Regions from separate parts of the Homo sapiens genome. Here regions 1 and 2 are each linked to region 3. The links are contacts of gene promoters, found by promoter capture Hi-C in blood cells and fetal thymus (Javierre and others, 2016). All regions are on one chromosome and are shown on one strand. Each heading gives the region's core, a stretch centred on a gene start or on the middle of the fragment in contact. The rest is flanking DNA. Distances are from core to core; before and after follow the strand shown. Region 1 holds the start of LOC124903915 (a long non-coding RNA gene). Region 2 has its middle 12 kb from the start of ODF4. Region 3 holds the start of VAMP2 (vesicle associated membrane protein 2).

Region 1 (2,886 bases), core at 271-2,770, 140 kb after region 3:
TCCCAAAGTTAGTTCAGCCTACGCTGAGGAATGAACAAGGACAGCTTAAAGATTAGAAGCAACATGGAACTGGTGAGGTCTGATTTCTTTCACTGTCATAATTTCCTCAGTTATAACTTTACAAAGGCGATTTTAAGACCCTGTCTCAAAAACAAACAAACAAACAAACAAAAACTATCGTGATCCACTCCCCCTACTCTGCTCTGAAACCTTCAGGGCCTGTCTGCCCGGTGTGATTGCTCACGATATGGCCTCCATGTGTCCCTCTTTTCATTTCAGATCAGTTTGTTTCCCTTTCACGGTTCTCCAGACGTGCCTACTTTCCTCTTCGCTGTGCCTGCGCTTCCCTGGATTCCCACAATGCTCCTTCATGCCCTGCCTCTTGGCTTGGCTAAACCCCTCTGCCTGATTTTAAATGAACAGTCAAAGTGCCTCTTCTCCCTGACACCCACTTTTTCCAACCAACAGGTCAATGACATGAGGAAGACCGAAGGAGGCTGCTGGGTGTGGACACAAAGAGATGGAGCAGACGCTTATGGGCTCCTTCATCCTTCCAGAACAGACTCTCCAAGCAAAGTCTAAACCAGTCACATTGAAGCTCCTAGGGTTACTTCATTAATAATATTTCAGGCCGGGCGTGGTGGCTCACGCCTGTAATCCCAGCACTTTGGGAGCCTGAGGCGGGAGGATCACAAGATTAGGAGTTCAAGACCAGCCTGGCCAATATGGTGAAATCCCGTCTCTACAAAAAGTTAGCCAGGCGTGGTGGCGGGCGCCTGTAGTCCCAGCTACTCGGGAGGCTGAGGCAGGAGAATGGCTTGAGCCCAGGAGGCGGAGGTTGCAGTGAGCCGAGATTGCACCACTACACTCCAGCCTGGGCAACAGAGCAAGACTCTGTCTCAAATAATAATAATAATAATAATACTTCAAAAAGACTTCAAATTGAAGTCTTTTTTTTTTTTTTTTTTTTGAGACGGATTCTCGCTCCGTCGCCCAGGCTGGAGTACAATCGTGTGATCTTGGCTCACTGCAACCTCCGCCTCCTGGGTTCAAGCCATTCTCTGGCCTCAGCCTCCTGAGTAGCTGGTATTACAGGCTTGTGCCAACATGCCTGGCTAATTTTTGTATTTTTAGTAGAGACGGGGTTTCATCTTGTTGTCCAGGCTGGTCATGAACTCCTGACCTTAAGTGATCTGCCTGCCTCAGCCTCCCAAAGTGCTGGGATTACAGGTGTGAGCCACCACGCCCGGCTGCACTAATTATTTGTAATGGTAAAGAGTGTAAGCTTCCCTAGGAGGACTGTCTCCCAGTTCTGCACTAGGGGATAAATTGTAATGGTCAAGGTTCTTTCAGCAGTAAGTGACAGAAAACCAGCTAAAACCAGCTCAAGCGCAAAAGGGAATGTCATGCCTCTGGAAGCTGGGAGGTCCAAGGGACTCAAATATCATTGTAATCCCCAGCTTTTTTTTTTGCTCTGTCACCCAGGCTGGAGTGCAGGGGCGTGGTCTTGGTTCACTGCAGCCTCGAACTCCTGGGCTCAAGTGATCCTCCTGCCTCAGCCTCTGGAGTAGTTGAGACTACAGGCATGCGCCACCGCCAGGCTTCCTCCCTCTCTTGGCTCTGCTTCCCTCAGGTATGGGGCTCATTTTCTCCCACTGTTGACTGGCTTCCTCCTTTTCCAGGGGAAGGAAGTAGGCCAAGGTATAGACAGCTCCTGACTTAGATTGTTCCTGCCTTGTGAGCTTGGAGGAAAGAGAAAGCTTCTCTTTCTCAGAGGCCCAGAAGCTTCTCTTTCTCCTGGAGTCTGTCCTGACCTGCTCATTCCTGGACCAGTCTCTGTGGCCAGAGGAATACGGCACTGTGATTGAACAAACCTGAGTCACGTGGCCAGAGGGAGGCTGTTGTGATTGGCTGTCCCACTGGAACCACATGGAGTCGGGTGGGTGATGGAGAGTTTCGTAGGAGATGGACACTGCTGTTACCAGGAAGATGAAATCTATTTGATGCAACATTATATTCCAGGAAACGTTATAGCTGCAAAGACCACGTAGCGACATGAAAATTGGTTATAAAGCAATGCTAAGAGAACAAGGCAGAAGACAGACTTGAAACTATGATGGCACATTTGGAATATGAAAAAATAGAAAACTTTTGCTCTGTAAGGGTGGTAGAAGAATGAATTATTACGTCAAAAACCTTCAGTGTCTTTGCAAAAGTATTTTATAATAAATAACGTGTGCATGCACAAATAGTCTCATGTTTACTGCATAATATGATTTTCGGAGCTCAGTTTCTTTTTGTAATGAGATAAGACACAAATAAAATAGATGGTGATATTGACAAAAAGAGTCAAACTCTGTAAAATATTTGAAGAGATTTATTCTGAGCCAAATATGAGTGACCATGGCCTGTGACTCAGCCCTCAGGAGATCCTGAGAACATGTGCCCAATGTAGTTGGGGTGCAGCTTGCTTTTATACATTTTAGGGAGACATGAGACTTCTATCAAATACTTTTTTTTTTTTGAGACCAAGTCTCACTCTGTCACCCAGGCTGGAGTGCAGTGGCACAATCTCGGCTCACTGCAACGTCTGCCTCCCAGGTTCAAACGATTCTCCTGCCTCAGCCTCCCAAGTACAATAGCTGGGATTACAGGCGCTCGCCACCACGCCTGGCTTATTTTTGTATTTTTAGTAGAGATGGGGTTTCACCATGTTGGCCAGGCTGGTCTCGAACTCCTGGCCTCAGCTGATCGGCCCGCCTCGGCCTCCCAAAGAGTTGGGATTACAAGCTTGAGCCACCGCGCCTGGCCTCAATCAAATACATTCAAATACATTTAAGAAATACAGGCCAGGCGCGGTGGCTCACGCCTGTAATCCCAGCACTT
Region 2 (2,935 bases), core at 414-2,913, 160 kb after region 3:
CAGGGAGTGGGCTGTGGGCTGATACAAAGTTGTTAGGAATTCTCATTGGTTTAAAGGAAGCTCTTTGATTAGTGATTGGCTATATACTGTTAAGCTATAGGGGGTGGGTTATAGTGTCCAGTGTGGCATTACCAGGTTAATTCATAGCTACTTATGGCAAGAGCAAGCCAATGCAAGCAGTTAAAGAGGTGAATACCTAGCTCAAAGGGGGTAATGGGATGTCACTGTTGTCTCATTTTAATTCCTCTCTGGCCCTGATTTTTTTTTTTTTTTTTGTCACAAGATTTGGCTTTGTCACCCAGGCGGGAGTGCAGTGGCACGATCTTGGCTCACTGCAGCCTCGAGCTCCTGGGCTCAAGCGATCCTCCTGCCTCAGCTTCCTGAGTAGCTGGGACCACAGGCAGGAGCCAACACACCCGACTAATTTCTGTATTTTTTGTAGAGACGGCGTTTTGCCATGTTGCCCAGGCTGGTCTGGAACTCCTGGGCTCAAGCGATCCTCTCTATGGGCCTGATAATTTTAAAAGCCTTGCCCCCCTCAGATAAAAAGTTTTTCTTTTCCTACAAGATAAGGCAGATAGTAAAGGGCACGGGCCTCTCTTTGAGCTGGCCTTCTGTGGGCTCCGGGTCAAGATCTTAGTGGCCAACATCGCAGATAAACGGGGGTGGGGGTTGCAATCATGCCCACAAGCAACAGAGGAAAGAGAGGAGCCTCGCCCTCTTCCCCCCACGCCCCGGCCCCCAAGCCTGCTCACTAGCTCTCTCCTCCTCCTTCCACCCGCAAGGAACCCTCCAGCCCACTTCCTGTGATCCTTTCCGGAGCCCTTCAGCCTGGCTGGCTCTCCAGCCATCTCGGAAAGCTTCTCTTTCCTAAACCCTCCATACTCGCAGGTTCAGCTACAGAGGTAACTGCAGGCTCAGGTTCTCCAGGGTGGCCAGCCCACCAGCCCACCGTCCCGGTGCAGCAGTGCCTCTCCAGCGACAGCTCCACCGCGAGCCTGGCGGGCTCCCGACCTTGCTCCCCAGCACGTCGTCTCCAAGCCACGGTCTCACCACCCTCCATCAGCCTCGGGCGACACCAAGGGGAACAGAGCGCTGGAGCTCCTCGAAGTCCTCCCGACCTTAGCGGGGCTCCGTTCATCCTCCCGGACGTGGCCAGGCCCCGCTCTGGCCCCGCGCCCGCCCCTCCCGCGGGGCTGCCCCTGTCTCTCTGCCGGAGACCCGGACTCAGTGAGTGAGCGCAGCGCGGCCATAGGGCTTCCTGCAGCGGGGTCTCAGCACGTCTTCTGGCTGGACTCTGGGGTCTCCTGGCCTGGCTGTGTCTCCTGGTTCTCAGCGCTCGCCTCCCACGCGGGGCGGAGTATGGGAGTGGGCTGCTCCCGCGGAAGAATCCTGGGGAAGTTGAGGCACTGGCTCCCGCTGTTCAGAACACTGCCCGACGTCCCCAGAGCTAGCCACTCCTCCTTCCCACCCACCCGCAGCACTCTCGAGGTCGCAACGGCAGTCACCAGGTCCCGGGGCCTGCGTTCAGCTGCTTGATCCGACTAGGTTTGGCTTCGGACCCGAATGGGTCAGCTCCACGCCCGATGGAGTTTTTCAAGCTGGTGCCTGCACGTGCCCCCGCCGCGGGGCATGAAGCCGTGGGCTGCGCCCAAACTGCCTCACAACCACCGCTGACCCGAAGCCTCTCTCACTCCGTCCACTGTTAGAAACCTGAAGCTGCCCTCTGTGAGAAAGCGTTGGGATTGAATCCAGACTTTTGGGGAACCTTAACAATAAAGAATACAAAATATTGACTAAAAATTGGATTTGAAAGTGACCCTGAGTTGTTGTTGTTGTTTTTGTTTTAGACGGAGTCTCACACTGTCACCCAGTCTAGAGTGCAGTGGCGTGACCTCGGCTCACCGCAACCTTCGCCTCCTGGGTTCAAGCGATTCTCCTGCCTCAGCCTCCCGAGTAGCTGGGACTACAGGCGTGCGCCACCACACTCGGCTAATTTTTTATATTTTTAGTAGAGACGGGGCTTCACCATATGGCCAGGCTGGTTTTGAACCCTTGACCTCATGATCTACCCCCATCGACCTCCCAAAGTGCTGGGATTACAGGGGAGGCACTGCGCCCAGCTACTCTTCCTTGATTTACGACAACCCTTGGTTATTGTGATTGGGTCGAGATGGGTATGTGTCCCAATTTGGATCAATGAGTTCAGAGACAGTTAATTCGAGACCCACCCAAGAGCCACTTGAATGAGCCATTCTCTCTTCCCCTGGACATTGCAGTGTGAGGATATAAGGTTTGGATCAGTGGCTGCCATTTTAGTGCAGTGAGAGGCAGCTTGGAGTTGCTGGGGAGGCCACTGGATACAGCCTGATGAAGGAGCCAACACCACAAAACTGGAAATGGAGAGACAAGGGGAAAGCCAGGTCCTTGTTATCATCACTTGAGTTCCAGGATCAAGTCTCATCTGAAGCTTTTATCTTGATTTTTCAGTTATTTTTGTTTGTTTGTTTGTTTGAGGCAGGATCTCGCACTGTTGCCCAGGCTGGAAGGAAGTGGCACGATCTCGGCCCACTGCAACCCTCTGCCTCCTAGGTTCAAGCTATTCTCATACTTCAGCCTCTCTAGTAGCTGGGACTACAGGCATGCGCCACCATGCCCAGCTAATTTTTTTTTTTTTTTTTTTTTTTTAGATGGAGTCACACTCTGTCACCCAGGCTGGAGTGCAATGGCATGATCTTGGCTCACTGCAACCTCTGCCTCCTGGGTTCAAGTGATTCTGTTGTCTCAGCCTCCTGAGTAGCTGGGATTGCAGGCGCCTGCGATCATGCCCCACTAATTTTTGTATTTTTAGTAGAAATGAAGTTTCACCATGTTGGCCAGGCTGGTCTCAAACTCCTGACCTCAGGCGATCTGCCCGCCTGGGCCTTACAAAGTG
Region 3 (2,700 bases), core at 104-2,603:
TCCCCACCCTTACCTTGAGGTTTTTCCACCAGTATTTGCGCTTGAGCTTGGCTGCGCTTGTTTCAAACTGGGAGGCCCCCGCCTGGAGTGCATCTGCACGGTCGTCCAGCTCCGACAGCTTCTGGTCTCGCTCCAGGACCTTGTCCACGTTCACCCTCATGATGTCCACCACCTGGGAGAAGGGCCCACGAGGCAGGGGGGTGTGCCAAGGCCCACCTCAGTGAGGGCAATCCTCAAACATGTGCCCACCGTGCCACACATGGAACATGCACCCTGATACTGCCAGGTTAACATGCCAAGGACACACAGAACATGCCTAGCACACCTGGGGACATGCAAGGAGCACACATCAGGGGCATGCTGGTGACATCTCAGATGTCATAGCAACACCCTCCCTCTATGGAACCTCAGGCGCTCTGTCCATCACCAGAGCACACCTGCCCAGGCTGGCACACCCCAGGCTAGCAAAGCTGATTAACACCCCCAGCGCCCTTCCAAGTGCGTGCTGACAGGGAGACAGGGATGGGGCATGGTATCTTTGTCCGCAAACCCACAGGCGTGAACTGTCATCACTCCCAAACCAACATGGGCCCCTACACCTATACGCCAACCCCCAGGGTCCCTCCTACTGCTTTTGACTCCCCCCACACTCACCTCATCCACCTGGGCCTGGGTCTGCTGCAGTCTCCTGTTACTGGTGAGGTTTGGAGGGGGTGCAGGGGGACCACCCTCCCCAGCCGGGGCAGCAGGGGGGGCCGTGGCAGCGGTAGCAGACCTGAGGAGCAGGGACGGATTAAGACCCAGGGCCTGCAGCCTCCCGGCCCCGCAGCCAGGGCTCCGCCCATCCACCTGTCCATCCTCGTCCCTCCAGTCCTCCTTTTCGGGAGGAAGGCCACCCGATGTAAGCCCTGGTCTCGGTCCAGCCCTGCCGCCGATGAGCTGCGTGACCTTGAGCGAGGCCCCCCCGGCCTCAGTTTCCCCGCCTGTCAACTGAGGGCGACCTCACAGATGCGATCCGGGTCGACCCGAAAAGACAGGCGGCCGCGGTGACAGGGGCGGGGAGGGGCAGGAGGACACTGGGTCCGCTCCTTCCCGCGGCCATCGCCCGAGCCGGCCAGCCCGGGACGCGGGGCTCCTCGGCCGCCCGCGCGCAGTCACCGGCTTGGGCCTGGCCCCGGGGCGCGGGGAACGCAGGAGAGACCCCGGGCACTCCCGACGGCCGGTTGCCAAGGGCGGCGGCCGGCGCAGGGAAGCGCGGTGAGGGTGGCGGGCGGCCGACTCACATGGCGGGGGCAGCGGGTGGAGGACTTGGCAGCGGCAGTGATGGCGGCGGCGGCTCGCGCTGGCTCCGACTGGCGCTGGCTGCCCGGGACGGAAAGATGGCGGCCGCGCGTCACCCGCATCCGGGCACTGCGGGCGGGGGCGGGGCGCCGCGGGAGACGCGTCGCGAGCGGGGCCGCGGGGGCGGGGCGCTGCGGGGCGCTGCGGGGCGGGGGTCGTGCCGGGCAGGACCACGGGCCCCGCGCCACCATGCCCCGGCAGCTCCCTCGGCACTCGCGGGACCCCAAGGCGGGCTGCTGCGGCTTCCCCAAACCCACCGCCACCCCACCCTGTCTGACCACAGCCCCCCCAAACCGCCTGCCGCCTGCCCCTTAGAGCACAACGCAGCCTGGCCCTACACCTAACCCCCAGACCACTCCCTCAATCGTGAACCCAGTAAACCAGCCTGCACCCCACACAGCCCAAGGTCTTGCCCCGCGCCCAGGTCCCAGCACCTAGCGACCCGCCTTCAGCACTTGGAATGGGCTGGAGTTGGGAAATCAGAGAGGGCCAGTGCAGGTGCTGGGGCAGTATCGAGAGCGGGGACCTTACTGCTAGGGTGGAGAGGAGTGGGGGAGATTGGTCCCAACCCATCACCGCTGGTGGATGTCTCAGAGGAAGCCTGGGGTCCCTGGCCACTGGGTAGGAGGGTAGGAAGAAAAGATGAGGCAGGCTCTTCCCGCCCAAACAAGTCCAGGGGGCGGAGGACGGGGGAGTGTCTACAGGGTGTGGGGAGGGGGCTGCCCCGCCTCACGATTAAGGTTCAGACTAGGGGTACTTAACCGCTGGAGCAGGCCCGACTGAGGTGGGGTGAGCTGAGGACCCCGAGGAGGAGGGCACAAGGCTGCCGGGGGTGATGGGGGCAGGGGCTGCTTCACGTGGTGGCTGCTGACTGGCCAAGACCTAGCTTTGCCCCAGGCTTAGGTCAGCGACCCGACTGCAGGAAAGGGCTCAGGCTTTGGTCCCAGGCACAGGGCCTGGGCCAAAAAAAAAAAAAAAGCCTTTTTTCTTTTTCTCTCATTTTTTTTTCTTTAGTAGTAGGCACAGTGGGCACAGGTTACAAGGTGCTGCTTTACATGCGTATTCGCCTCGCAGGTGTGACCTTGGACCGTTGCCCTCCTCTCTCTGGACCCCAAATACATTGCATATGTAGGTACTAAATCCATATTTGTTAAATGGCTTGATGTGGATAACATAGGAGATTATCCCTGGCTGGTCTCCATTAGGCCCTCTAAGCACACCCAGCAGCTGTATACACTCCCACCCAGCTTGTCAGAGAAGATGGGACCAGGGGAGCTGTCGCTCTGGTGGAGTGCAGGGGGTCAAAGCAAGCCTCAAGGGTGCAGGAGGCATTTTAGGCGAGGCCCTTTGGCCCTGGGG

Evidence for each region. Contacts are between HindIII fragments. The CHiCAGO score rates a contact against its expected background, and 5 or more counts as called.
Region 1: a contact is called between a fragment that was not itself captured here and the fragment with the promoter of VAMP2 in region 3, in 4 of 17 cell types (non-activated CD4 T cells, total CD8 T cells, total CD4 T cells and 1 more). The highest score is 7.3, in non-activated CD4 T cells.
Region 2: a fragment that was not itself captured here is called in contact with the fragment with the promoter of VAMP2 in region 3 in 1 of 17 cell types (megakaryocytes); the score reaches 5.1 in megakaryocytes.

The regions. Positions count from the first base shown.
Region 1 is chr17:8,302,817-8,305,702 of GRCh38, forward strand. LOC124903915 (a long non-coding RNA gene) reads right to left here and starts at 2,034. Exons shown (of 2, transcript XR_007065606.1): 1 at 1,875-2,034. LOC124903914 (a long non-coding RNA gene) reads left to right here and starts at 1,185. Exons shown (of 2, transcript XR_007065605.1): 1 at 1,185-1,633; 2 at 2,023-2,249. RefSeq lists a cis regulatory region at 1,699-2,087. The HindIII fragment of the contact is 475 bases long and covers 1,284-1,758 here.
Region 2 is chr17:8,325,926-8,328,860 of GRCh38, forward strand. No RefSeq gene overlaps it. Among named protein-coding and RNA genes, the nearest start is that of ODF4, 12 kb to the right of the region's middle. The HindIII fragment of the contact is 1,610 bases long and covers 859-2,468 here.
Region 3 is chr17:8,161,595-8,164,294 of GRCh38, forward strand. It overlaps VAMP2 (vesicle associated membrane protein 2), which reads right to left and starts at 1,354. Exons shown (of 5, transcript NM_014232.3): 1 at 1,284-1,354; 2 at 655-775; 3 at 14-172. The coding sequence starts at 1,285. RefSeq lists an enhancer at 522-571 and silencers at 682-791, 1,082-1,271, 1,432-1,531, 1,662-1,721. The HindIII fragment of the contact is 9,788 bases long and covers 1-2,700 here.